Linked DNA regions of Homo sapiens: region 2 is linked to region 1. Evidence: promoter capture Hi-C in 16 types of primary human blood cells and fetal thymus (Javierre and others, 2016). All regions are on one chromosome and are shown on one strand. Each heading gives the region's core, a stretch centred on a gene start or on the middle of the fragment in contact. The rest is flanking DNA. Distances are from core to core; before and after follow the strand shown.

Region 1 (7,293 bases), core at 2,131-4,630:
GAGCCACTACTGAGCCAAGAAGGCGCTTCCGGGCCTTCCCACTCTAGAGGAACGTTGAATCTTCATTTTCACTTCAAGTATGAGGCGATGTGAGAGACCTCCCCCAGTGCAAACGTATCTAGGTTGATGAAGTGACCTTGCTTTAAAAATGGGCCCAATTGTAAGGCCCATTGGCCTTTTCTGTAGGGATGGAGCCCGATTGGCCTTTTCTGTAGGGATGGATGACTAGTCAAGATCGGGGAGCTCCAAAGGGGATCATGCCCGCGTCTTTGATGGTTCCTTCTTGGCTACTAGTTTGGTGGCCCGAAAGGCCCTGTGTGTTGTCTGTTTCTTAGCAGCGGGACACCACTCTCAGTAGTGGTTTTGAGTAGGCTGGTTAGTAGAGAGAGCCCAAGGTTCAGACAGGGTGCAGAATGGTTATTTTGGGTGAGATCAAGAGTTTTCGGTTTTATTTCCTTTGAGCCGAGTCAGTACTTGGACTCTCTCATATGGTCCAGGAGCAAACTTTGTCAGTAATTTCATTTTTAGTCACTGTTAATTTTACCTATATAGCATAAGCCATGAAATGTGACTCAGTGAGTCAGATCCACCCATTTTCAGTTACCATGTCTGGATACATGGTCTGGTCTCAACTGTTCTCTTCTTAAGGTGATGATAATGAAGACAGATTTAGGCATTATCTTTGATTCCCTACAAGTTCTTCATTCCAGTTTTAGTCAAAGTACATTATATATCCACAGTGTGTTTTATTGACTTTTTGGTTACTGTAAGTAATTGATAGTTGTAAATCCTGTGTGATAAACTAAATCCTATGAGAGGAGACTTAACCAAATGAGTAATAGTTGTCAAAAGTACCCATCCACTCTTTTTATATAAACTTTTTATTTTAGAAGAGTTTTAGATTTGCAGAAAATTTGCAAAAACAGTACAGAGAGTTTTTACATACTCCCTCCCGATTTTCCCTATTATTGACATCTTACATTGGTATGGTACATTTCTTACAATTAATGAACGGATATTGATATATTACTATTAACTGAAGTCCAAACTTTATTCAGATTTCCTTAGTTTTTTACTCAATGTCCTCCCTACCTCGTTTGTTTTTTTGCTCCAGGATCTCATGCGGGATCCCACATTACCTATAGTCATCGTATCTCCTTAGATTCCCCTTGGCTGTGTCAGACTTTTCTTGTGTTTGAAGGTCTTGACCTGGCTTTAATTGGTGAGGTATTTTGTAGAATGCCTCTCTACTGGAATTTGGTGTCTTTCTCCATATTAGACTAGAATTATGGATTCTTAGGAGGAAGATTACAGAGATAAAATGACATTCTCATCACATCATATCAAGGGGACATACTATCAACATGCCTTATCACTTGATGTTAACCTTGGTCTGCTGGCTGAGGTACTGTTTGTCAGGTTTCTCCACTGTCAACTTATTCCCCTGCTTTCATACTATACTCTTCGGAAGGAAGTCACTTTGTGCACCCACACTTAAAGAGTGGGGATTTATGCTGCATCTCCTTGAAGGTGGAGTAGCTACATAAGTTATTTTACCAATTCACTTTTAATCCCCTTAGGTATCACTCTCGGGAGTCCGAAATACTCAGTATTGAACTATTTACAGAGTACTAACACGTTCCACTGTCAAATATACAGAAGAACATTGTAATGGAAAATCATAAAGTTTCCTTACAACTTTTTTTTTTTTTTTTTGAGACGAAGTCTCACTCTGTTGCCCAGGCTGGAGTTCAGTGGCAAGATCTCGGCTCACTGCAACCTCTGCCTGCTGGGTTCAAGCGATTCTCCTGCCTCAGCCTCCTGAGTAGCTAGGATTAGAGGCATGCGCCACCACGCCCAGCTAATTTTTGTATTTTTAGTAGAGACAGTATTTTGCCATGTTGGCCAGGCTGGTCTCGAACTCCTGACCTCGTGATCCACCTGCCTTGGCCTCCCAAAGTGCTGGGATTACAGGCGTGAGCCACTGCGCCTGGCCTACAACTTTTTCATAACCAAATAACTTTTCATCCTCATACCATCCCTGTGAAATTTTACAGTTCCTCTTCTGCTACTTTTGATGTGCTATTTTTGCTTTTAGAAACTAACAAACAACAAATTTCCCCTTTCAGTACTAAAATTAGACCTAGTGTTTAGAGTATTTCTCCAAAATTGACATCCTGCAGAACTCCCAACTCATACAGTTATAGAGATGCTACTGTGGTGCTTAAAGCCAGTGTAGTTTTTCACCCACTTGAATATATATACACACATCACATAGACTGCCTATACCAACGACATACTATTGTTTAAAGCTACAATTCATAAAATTACAGCATGTATACTTTAACTTGTAAGTGTGGGTTTCTTCTGATATGGACAGCTGATGCACAAACCCTCAGCCTTAAGTCTCAAATATATTTGTATGCACTAATATAATTTTCTAATAGCGGTGACAGTGGCCTTTTGAGACTCATTCGTATATTGTCCCACACGCTGGATATCTTTAGAAGGGCTCACCTGAACAATGTCCCTTAGACCTCAATGTGAAGAAAAGTTCTGCTTTGAAAAACAGTTTTGTGGTCACTTCCCCTTTCCTCTCTCTGCAGTCAAATGTGTGCTTTACCTCTGGACAGTAGGGAGGGTGTTGGGAGAAGATGTTGACTGATACATATCTGTATACTAACATCTTTAAGTTAATTTTACAATCTTACTGCCCCCACCTTCCACCCTTAGCTCTACTTTCTTTGCTTAATTTTCTGGTACATCATATATGTATTTTTGTAAGGTGTGTATTTAGAAGAAGGCAGGCTGGGAGAAAATAAACACACTCTATAAAACACTCCCTCTATTTATATAGAGTGGGTAGTATTGCGTGAGTGGTGGCAAATAAATCAAGCAGTTCCCAGAGGGAAAACAAAAGTGAGATAAATGCTTCCAAAAATTAAAAAGTTGAATTGATAGAAGTGCCAAAATCCTTTCCAACTGTCTGAAAACTTGGACCAAAAACTTTTACCATGTGAAATGAAAAAGTGAGGAAGGAAAAAAAAATACTTTGAAAGAAGGGGGTTCTCATTGATACTTTCCACGGCTGTTATCACTGAATCTAGACAAAAAGTTCCAGATCTTCCTCAATTTAAGATAAACGTCTTTGAACTTCAGCTTGCCAAGAAAGCAAGGCTGACCCCCGACCCTCCGTGTGATGTCACTTTTCTCATCCATTATCCTTCTAAAATAGACATTTTGAGACAATTTAGTGATGCGACATTTCCATCCTGTCGGGGTTCCTTGGGTTTGACATTCGAAAGGGGGCTGGAGGCGCGGAACCCGCGGCACTCCGCGGCCAGCGTCCTTTAAAGCCGCCGCCAGCCAGCGCCGCTGTAACCCCGCGCACCGGCAGGTCGCCGGCTCCTGCCCTTTTCAGTCTGCGCCGACGCGGCTGCCGGATCCCGGGGACTCCCCGCGCCGGGAATCTCCCGCCAGCTGCGCGCTGAGTCCAGGCGACGGCAGGAGCACGTGGAGAGGCCGAGTAGCCACAGCGGCAGCTCCAGCCCGGCCCGGCAGCGACATGGAAGGTGAGCCTCCAGCCCGCTTCTTTTCTCCGGGGTCTTTGAGAAACTTAACCTGTGCAAGCAGTAGAAAGAGTTTCTTCTGAATCTCAGTTTTGCTTCTATTTACTTCTTTTGTCAAAAGTAAATATGAGGTATTTCAGAGGACAAAGCGCGTCGGTTCTCTTAACGTCTCTCACTTGTCCTTCCCCCGCCCTTTGGAAAGTGATAACTTCTTCGCAATTTTATTTCTAAAGAGTTGTCAGACATGGGGGGTCTACCCTACATCTGCAGAGGAAGAGCACTTAAGGGGTGTCCCTGAAATGGCTGCAAATCTGGGGTGGAATAATCAACCCTTTTGGATATTTTTTCCTTCATGGCCTCAGTGTTTATTGGAATTAGACTAATCTGAGTAACTTGTTTTCTTCCAAGGGTAAATGGTGTCATATGGGAAAGGTACATTTTAAAGCGGTTGGCATTTGCAGTTCCCTTGGAACTCGATCTTCTAATGAGTCTTCTTTACCCAGCGCAAAAAATCAGGTTCACATTAGGAGTTTCATATGAATTAATTTTGAAAGTCGTAACACTATCCTTGCTTCTCAAACATTTTTCATTCTGTACTTCCTTGGGATACCTAAAATTTCACACTGCTACTGTAAACTCTTCAATGGTCTTTTCAACAAGTGTTTCTAAAACCTTGAAAATGGCAAATGCATCTCAACTCGGGGGGGGATGGTGGGATTAAGAAATTCAGAATTTCATTCTATTAAAAATGAGATATTGACACCTAACTAAAATGTTACTTTGATAAATATGAAGATCGTGGGTATTTTCTTCATAATAATGGAAGAATCTCTAATTAACAATGAACTGATCTTTGGCAGCTTTATTTCTAGAGTATATAAAGTTGTTAAAATATCAAAAACTTTATGCTTTTAATTTTTTTAATTAGGGCTTGAAAACTTTAAAAATTTTGCATTTTTAACATTTAAATAATGGTTTATTGAAGTGTAATTTTTAACAAAGGTTTTATTGGCCAATAACAAGGAAAAAAAGTTGGGCTGTTGTATACTATGGGAAAAATAATTTTTGAAAAGCTCATATGCTTTAATTATTACAAATGATTAATTTGTTTTTATGAAATTATAAATCAGTACTCCAACACTATTTTTCCTAGCCGTAACCATACCACGTATCAAGGATAATGTACAGAATCATGTAAATCCATAGAAACTGGAGTATTTCTCTATAAATGTTAATACTTCCAAATTCATTTATTTAATGTGCAATAAAGAAACTAAATAGCATATCTTAGGTTATTGGTGTACTAACACAGATGTTTAATAAGCCTGAAGACTCCCTTAAGAAGAAAAGAATGAAAACTTGTGTAGAATTTAATTTAGAGTGTGTAGACTATAAATGGAAAGAGAATGTAGATCAATAACTTTTTAAAGTTGTGTTTACATGATTAGATTAAATCTATAGGTCCATGGAGATAGATAGTATAGATTATGCTTAATGAAAAAACTTTAACATTTAAATTTTAAAAAGAGGTTAATTATATGAATTTGGCTATTTTAATGTCAGGTCCTTGCGTATAGAGTATTTGATGTGGTAAAATATCTGGTTCATTATAGCTACCCAAAATAGACTAATCTGGCCCATGTTTTTGATATTTAAAAAATTTTTATATCATCTTGTGGTTTTGATCTCAGTCTAGATTAGAGATTTGGTCTATAGTGTATACCTCTCTTGGCAATGTAAGAAAGTAGAATACTTCATGGAATACCTTTATTTTCTGCCCAATTTGGGGGTCACATTGATTCATAACAGTTTATTGTACAATGCAATACTGTATATCATTCCTTCAGCATATAAAGTCATTTAACAAATTCATTTATCTTTTAATTAATTTATTGAGACTTTCTATGTATGAAGATGTCAGATGAATAAGCTTTTGAAATAGAAATCTTGTAGAAATGAAGATTTAATGAATATACTAAAATCAGAAGCTATAACTTTTTAATTTTCTCACAATCTGTGACCTTAAATATTTTCTACCCAAAGACTGTTTATGAATCACTAAATTTTATTATTTGTACTATAACATCTCTTCTGTCTGTTATGGTCGGGAAATGAGGTGGTTCACAAACATGAATTTCACAGGTAATGGCAGACTTCTTATTTAATGTAAAACATTTTTATTTTTAACAATATTGAGTAAAGATTTTTCTAAGTATATTTATTACACAGCTCCCTGCTTTATAAGCAAGGTACATAAGAGATAAGTTTATCTCGGCAACTCTGAGTTACTGTTCTCACCATCAGATCATATATTATTCCATAATATATTCTCACAGGGGTTTTGAGCTGAATGCCCCTACACCAAACATACCTAGGATATTGTACAATTTTTGTCTCCTTCTTGATGTCAGCTTATATTTCTTACCACATAGATTTTGTGGTAGTAGGGTTTTGTTTCAGGTCCCTTTCCATGTTCTGGATGGCTGAGATTAACAGAGATAAAGCCTGTAGATGATGGAATCTGTTTGCCCTCCATTGTGAGCGTATGGAGGATGAAATGCGAAGGTTTTAAGAAACAAAAGCCACAGAAAGGCCGTGGCGTCCTGGTAGAACATAATTTTTCAAAATTCCTGTTTGTACTTCCTTTAATCCAGTATGCTATTTCATGCTTCCATGTCTTTGCTATTATGTTCACCCATTCTCTACTTGCTTATGCCTACTCATCTTTCAAGACTCTGCTCAGGCATCATCGCCATGAAGGCTCTCTGATGACCTTCTTCTGATGACCTCCTCCTAGTGCCTTCTGGTGATCACCCCTACCCAGTCTCTCATGTTCCTTCACCTCAGCTAAGGGCCTCTCCTTTCTGTGTATACTTCTACCACATTGTGTTGAAATTATTTATTGATGTAGGTGTTTATTCCCCCTCTGGTCTTTAAGCTTCTGGAGAACAGAGACTGTGTCTTGTTTTTGTACACTGAATGCGAAGGACAGTTTCTGGTTCATAGAAGGCCCTCAGAATTTGTTGCATTCAATTAAAATAGTGCTGAAAAAGTACTTTTTATTATGTTTATTGTGATGCATTTTATTTAAATAAATTTTTAAAGTAGGAGATTGGGGCTAGTAATTCTTTGATAAAGCTCAGTAATTTTTTAAGCACTTAAACTGTATAATTGAAAAAGAAAGCTTGGAAAACAAAAATGTTATTGGATATTTTTTGCTAGACTGTCACTTAAAGCCAATTTTAACAAAATTAGATTTAGGGGGTACATGTGCAGGTTTCTTACATAAGTATATTATGTGATGCTGAGGATTGGGCTTCTATTGATCCTGTCACCCAAATAATGAGCATAGTGTCCTATAGGTAGTTTTTCAACCCTTGCCCTCCTCCCACCCTTCCCCATTTTGGGGTCATCAGTGTCTAATTTGGGGGTCACATTAATTCATAACAGTCCATGTGTACCCAGTGTTTAGCTCCCCGTCATAAGTGAGAACATGCGGTATTTGGTTTTCTGTTTCTGTGTTAATTCACTAAGAATAATGGCCTCCAGCTGCATCCATGTTGTTGCAAAGGATATGATTTCATTCTTTTTTGTGTAAAGCCAAATTTTAACTGTTAAATTTACATAAGCAGATTTCAGGATCGCAATTAGTCCATTAAAATATCCATTGAATATGAGCAGAAATTTGTTTTCTCAGTCAGTAAGATATAGATGATGCCATAAA
Region 2 (6,671 bases), core at 2,698-5,197, 73 kb after region 1:
CCAGCAACTATGTAAGCCCAAAGGACTTCTCTAATGCCCTGTCCCTGTGTCCTTATGTCCCTGGGTCTCAAATACTGTCTTCCTTGCTCTATAGCTGACTCCTAAAGGACTAAAGCTAAGATCTGCTCTTGAGCCAGGATGGTGTCGTATTGAATTCCAGGTCAGGCCAACTAAAGCCAAAATCCTGAGGGAAAGGAGCAGCTCTCTTATGTCCTCTGTTTTCAGAAAGACTCAACACATTGATCTTACTACATTTTAAAGTTCAGTGACCATGGAGTGGCCTGAGTCTGGTCATGTTCACATTTTCTAACCAAAATGGAAAGGATCCTTTTCTGCTGGCCTTTTCTATCTGCTGTTTTTGGTTTTAAGTAGCTGAAATTTTCCGTTGAGGTTCTTTTAAACGCCTACATGCAAACTGAAGAGCACTCAAGCTTTGGTGGGATATTACCCACAGCTGGAGTGATGGAGGAAGGGAGGCAAGTACAAGCCTCAGGTGCATCCTTCTCTTAAAAAAATAAAAAATAAACACTTAAGCAAACAAATTCCACTTGAAAGCAGGGAAGACCTATCCAGAGAAAGAAGTAAACCTCTTTCCAAGTAGGAAACAGATATCATTTCTTATATAATCCAGATCCATAGGGTGGGCAAATTTGAAACATGTTGGACTTATCCTACAGCCCTACATCTTTGCTAGTCAAAGAGTGAAAAGTTGTGAACCATGAACTGTGGTAGGAAGCAGTGGAACTGTGTGGCAGCCCTGGCTCCTCTGATGGTGGTTAGGCCCTGTCTTGCTCTATTAAGCAAACACAGTTAATATAGATGAAAGGTAACCTTGATAGAAGTGAAAATTGAAACTTGGGTTGAAGGTAGCAAGCCAGGCACAGCTGCAGTTGTACTTCCTCCTATGCAGCAAGAGGAGCAACACTTACTGATGTTTTTTGGAAGGGATGTAGTTTTTTAAAATATCTTTTTTCAGACTGTTTTGGGTTTTAACATTTACACCATTGATGGGAGGGTGTGTAATACAGTTGGTAAGAACCCACTTAGGCCTTATATGTCTAGTGCATGAGGTCAAATCCAAGTAATTGATAGTTCAAGCTTAAGTTTTGCATTCTAATCACACCTCTGCCAGTAACTGGATGTGTAACCTTCGACAAATGACCAAAAACATCTCTGCTCCCAGATTTCCTCATCTGAGAAACAAGAGGGTTGGATTAGATGACCTTTAAATTCCCTTCCAGCCCTACACTCCATTGATTTGTGATTCCTCATGGGGAGGTACAACTTTTGATTTCTAAGGACCAATGGTTGAAAAAGTAAGCATTTATATAGCATATTTTATATATGCAAAATCCCTTACAAATGTTTATTATTCTTACATCAGGCAAATTTTTAGGTTTTACTAGTGTCAGTGCAAGTACATAAATTTGCCTTCTTTGTTTCTTATGTTCTTCATATTTTTCCCACGTTCTTCATATGTTCTTATGCTCTTCATGAAGAGTATTACAGCTCTTCTTTTAAATTTCATTCATTTACATTGCAGTTCTTAAGATAGTACTTGGTCAGCCAACTCACTTGAGCCAGTCCCTCCTCTCCTATCCAGTCCTATTACACAATCCTTGAGTCCTTGAGTTTAGTTCTCCCTAACTTGGGACCTAATGGTCCTTCCCCTTATTTAGATTGAGCCCCACTTACCTGTGTCGATGAAAGTGACTCCTTAGGTTATATGAAAGAATTACTTTTCCTTTTGTCTTTCTCAACACTTTTTCATTAGTACTGACAACTTCCTCTACAGTCAATGTTGTGCCTTTATCAGCTCCAAGAGAGACAGAGATAAGATGTGTTTTAGCAATTCATATACGTGGAAGGGGAAGAGGCAATGCATGGCTTAAAATTAGAAAAACTATGTTAACTAGTCAACTCTTAATCTTAATGGCTTACACTGGATGCATCTGAAGGATTCAAACAATATTTTCTCCTTGAAACCTAAGAGTACATCACCTTGCCTTTTTAACTGCAGCCACCAAAAACAGTACTAGATCTGAGAACCCTTCCTCTCCCCTAGTACTGGAGAAGAGTTGCTCAATGTTTGTTTCATGGCCACTTTGAGCAAACTTAGCTAAAATCTATTATCTGTAATTTTCTGGATAGCCTAAAACACTATCGTCTATTTTTATGTGTGTAAGTATGTGTGTTTTCCTCTGACTGTGGTTCTGAATTTAAATAACGTGCGGTCACGCTAATGGTGCTTTCTTGTTTTGTAGATGTACAGTGTTTTGTTAGCTTCGATTGGTATTTAATTGTCAGTTGTGGGTCTCTGCTGTTTGAGCTGCTTTGATAGCTTCAAGTATAGTCGTTGTTCATTTCTTGCATTTTCTTCCCTGCAGATGATTCAATGAAAGTGAAAGATGAATACAGTGAAAGAGATGAGAATGTTTTAAAGTCAGAACCCATGGGAAATGCAGAAGAGCCTGAAATCCCTTACAGCTATTCAAGAGAATATAATGAATATGAAAACATTAAGTTGGAGAGACATGTTGTCTCATTCGATAGTAGCAGGCCAACCAGTGGAAAGATGAACTGCGATGTGTGTGGATTATCCTGCATCAGCTTCAATGTCTTAATGGTTCATAAGCGAAGCCATACTGGTAAATAGTCTGCTTTTTTCATTCTTCTGAAAACTCTCCTAATGCAGCCACGTGAGAAATGAAGTGGTGGAATTTGGAACTTTTGGTTACTTTCATTGATTTTTGCTATAATGCTGATGTATCTCTCTCTCTGCATTGCTGTTCACTCAGTGCTTTTTATTCCTGCCTCACCATGCATTTGGCAAACATATTGCAAATGCTATGAATAAAAAAAGACTGTAGAGAGCACAGTGTTCTAGGTCAGCCAAATACTTTTTCTTCAGTTTCTAAGTAGGAGTTGAATTGTGTGATTTGCTTCTTAGCCATCTTTTGTATATTTTTGCATAACATTTTTAATAAGAGCAGATCTTCTTATTGTATTGGGTTCAAATTTGGTAAATGAAAGGACATAGTTTTTATTTCCAGCTTAAAATAATGTATCTTCAGACAATAAACAGGTAGTCTATAGAAATGCATACAAACACAACCATCGCACTTGAGCCAGTCGATTCCATCCCATATCTCATATGAAGACTTTAAAAAGGAGAATTTCTAGCCCTCAACACCTTGTAAGGACTTTAGTTTCTGGCTCTTTTTTCAAAGGAGATTATATTCAAAAGGAATACTAAAAAATTAGCCAGGCATAATGGCAAACACTGGTAGTCCCAGCTATTCTGAAGGCTGAGGTGACAGGCTCACTTGAACCCAGGAGGTCAAGGTTTCAGTGAGCCATGATGGGACCATTGCACTCCAGCCTGAGCAACAGAGCAAGAAGACCCTGTCTAAAAAAAAAAAAAAAAAAAAAAGGGAGTACCAAGTAATATAGTAATATAAAAACTTAGATCTAGAAAGCACTTCTAGAGCTGCTCTTGTTTCTTTGCTCTGATTCAATATGATACCTAAAATAGCCTTGCTAGTGGGTGCTTTTTCTCTTCTACAGAGGAGATTTCATAAGTAAGTCTTAGGCTTGCCTTGAAATGCAGCTCCCAACTGATCCCAATGTGAACAGTAATTGTCTAAAAGATGAGCTTTTCCCCTAGGCATCTAATCTGTGCATATGTTTCTCCACTTGCCTGTGACCAGAAATCTCCTTTTTTGTCCTTTTTAAAGGTGAACGCCCATTCCAGTGTAATCAGTGTGGGGCATCTTTTACTCAGAAAGGTAACCTCCTCCGCCACATTAAACTGCACACAGGGGAAAAACCTTTTAAGTGTCACCTCTGCAACTATGCATGCCAAAGAAGAGATGCGCTCACGGGGCATCTTAGGACACATTCTGGTAAGTGAGAGAAATGAGCATTCCTTGTCTAGGAAGTGCATTCCTCAGAGCCCAGTGTGGAAACTAGAAAGAGTTAAGTAGGAAGGTTTCAATCTGTCATTCTTGTTCTGAAGGGTTACAACAGCAGAGACCTCTAGGGCTAATTACACGACCATTAAGGCACTAATTGCTCTCCGTCTGCCTCAGTGGAGATGATCATCTCCTCACCATCCTTGCACCCATGGAGAACAACACAGTCAGATAGGAAGAGCCCACCCTATAAAAAATGTCCTTTTAATTTTTGTGAGAAAATTATAGCCATCAGTATTTTCTTCTGGTAAACTTTATTAGAAGATTATTTTCCCAACACACACACTCTTTCCATTCAAAAGACGAGACAAGCAAATGATGTACAGTTTGTAAATTATGAAAAACTGTGATCTGGATATAAATCATTGTTTGGGGGCTACTTTTTGGCCATTTGGGATAAATTTATTAAATCCAACTTTCCTCTTGATTGGCCCACTTTTTTTTTTTTTTTTAAATAAACATGAGGTCTCACTATGTTGCTCAGGCTGGTCTCAAACTTCTGAGCTCAGGCATTCCTCCCACTTTGACCTCCCAAAGTGCTGGGATTACAGGCAGGAGCCACCATGCCCAGCCAGCCTACTTATTTTAAATCTCTAAAAGATTGAACAACGGTAAAGATTTGTAAAAGTTATGTGCTGTCGTGATGTTTTTACTCCTTATTTTGACCAAGATAATACTTTTTTTTCAAGATTTAGAATTTCCGTCCTAGAAAAATAAGACTGAGTTTATTTTCAAATTTGGGACCTCATGTTCTTGATGTTATCTGGCAAAATTTTAATTGGAAAAAAAGGCTTGTTTTTATGTCAGTTCACATCTACTGCTTTGATTAAAACCTAGCCCCAAACTCAAAACTTGTTATAATTCAGCCACTAGGATTAAACAAGTCAGCCCCAACAAAACCCACCATGAGAGATCATAATTGGCAATTGAAGGGTTTCTCTCTTTTACAGCTCATTTTTCAAAGTAGTGAATTAAGGATGAGTTTGGTTCGAAAAAAATTAGAATAGTTCTCTACTGTTGCCTTTTTCAAGTAAGAAACAATAGTAGGCTTTTTAAAGACAGATTCCAGAGAACCCAATTTATGCAGAAACGTAACATTTTTAGCCCTAGCAAACCTGCATTTGTTTTAATTTAGGATTCCATAAGGATCTTTTAGTGCTTTAAATCCCAAAGCCTCTGTTTTAAACAGAGCAAGAGTTAGAAAATAAAAATTTTAGCCCCTAAAACTGACAAATTCATTGAGTATATTCTATCAACAATCAGAAAGACCAGCCTTGCACAGATAGTTGAAGTTATTACTTACATATTTCAAGCAATAAAGCATTTGGGGAGTTGGCAGAATAAAGTTTGCATGAATTGTATGGGTGAAACCTTTCCTTCATCTTAGACATTTAGACGAAGTCATTTTTACAATTCATTTTTATTTCTCTCTTTTTTTTTTTTTTTTTGAGACGGAGTCTTGCTCTGTTGCCTAGGCTGTTGCAGTGGCGTGATCTTGGCTCACTGCAACCTCCGCCTCCCAGGTTCAAGCGATTCTCCTGCCTCAGCCTCCCTAGTAGCTGGGATTATAGATGCCTACCACAACGCCCAGCTAATTTTGTTTGTTTGTTTGTTTGTTTGAGATGGTGTCTCACTCTGTCACCCAGGCTGGAGTACAGCGGCGCCATCTCAGCTCACTGCAACCTCTACCTCCCAGGTTCAAGCGATTCTCCTGCCTCAGCCTCCCTAGTAGCTGGGATTATAGATGCCTACCACGACGCCCGGCTAATTTTGTTTGTTTGTTTGAGATGGAGTCTCACTCTGCCGCCCAGGCTGGGATGCAGTGGTGCAATCTCAGCCCACTGCAACCTCCACCTCCCAGGTTCAAGCGATTCTTCTGCCTCAGCCTCCTGAGTAGCTGGGACTAAAGGGTCACGCCATCACGCCTGGCTAATTTTTGTATTTTTAGTAGAGATGGGGTTTCACCACATTGGCCAGGCTGGTCTCGAACTCCTCACCTCGTGATCCGCCTGCCTCGGCCTCCGAAAGTGCTGAGATTACAGGCGTGAGCCACTGTGCCTGGCTAATTTTTGTATTTTTAGTAGAGATGGGGTTTTGCCATGTTAGGCAGGCTGGTCTCGAACTCCTGACCTCAGGTGATCCTCCCACTTCGGCCTCCCAAAGTGCTGGGATTACAGGTGTCAGCCACTGCGCCCGGCCTATTTTTATTTCTATTATTCAAAAATATCCTGGCCGGGTGCAATGGCTCACACCTGTAAGCCTCTCACTTTGGGAGGCCAAGGTGGCCTTTGGGAGGCCCAGACTTCACCTGAGCCTATGAAATTGGGGCTGTAGCGAGCTGTGATTTCACCACTGCACCCAAGCCTGGGTGATAGAGTGAGACCCTGTCTCAAAAACAAAAAAACAAAAAAATCCGTAGTTAATTAGCTCAGTTTTTATTGTTTTAGCCTAGACTTTGCTATAGCCACGTGGCAAGGATGAGCTAAATTTACCCAAATATGTCAATGTTCTGAAAAGGCCATCAGTTTCTAGCCGAATGGCTAACTCCCACAAACTACAGCAATCTTTACTTACAGCCAGATGGATGTCCAAAATAAAGAATCCTTTCCTATTTCATTGCTTATACCACATTAACCTCCTTGAAGAATAAAAGGGCCCTATTTTCTTTTTCCCAAAGAAAACAAAATTTGACCTGGA

Evidence for each region. Contacts are between HindIII fragments. The CHiCAGO score rates a contact against its expected background, and 5 or more counts as called.
Region 2: a contact is called between a fragment that was not itself captured here and the fragment with the promoter of IKZF3 in region 1, in 6 of 17 cell types (naive CD4 T cells, activated CD4 T cells, total CD8 T cells and 3 more). The highest score is 8.1, in naive CD4 T cells.

Annotation. Positions count from the first base shown.
Region 1 is chr17:39,860,399-39,867,691 of GRCh38, reverse strand. IKZF3 (IKAROS family zinc finger 3) reads left to right here and starts at 3,380. Exons shown (of 8, transcript NM_012481.5): 1 at 3,380-3,572. The coding sequence starts at 3,566. RefSeq lists enhancers at 131-210, 2,622-2,681, 2,742-2,811, 3,539-3,628, 3,639-3,758 and 2 more and a silencer at 221-436. The HindIII fragment of the contact is 8,560 bases long and covers 1-5,501 here.
Region 2 is chr17:39,788,650-39,795,320 of GRCh38, reverse strand. It overlaps IKZF3 (IKAROS family zinc finger 3), which reads left to right. Exons shown (of 8, transcript NM_012481.5): 4 at 2,388-2,648; 5 at 3,738-3,905. Among named protein-coding and RNA genes, the nearest start is that of GRB7, 54 kb to the right of the region's middle. RefSeq lists enhancers at 2,341-2,470, 3,568-3,677. The HindIII fragment of the contact is 5,694 bases long and covers 1,101-6,671 here.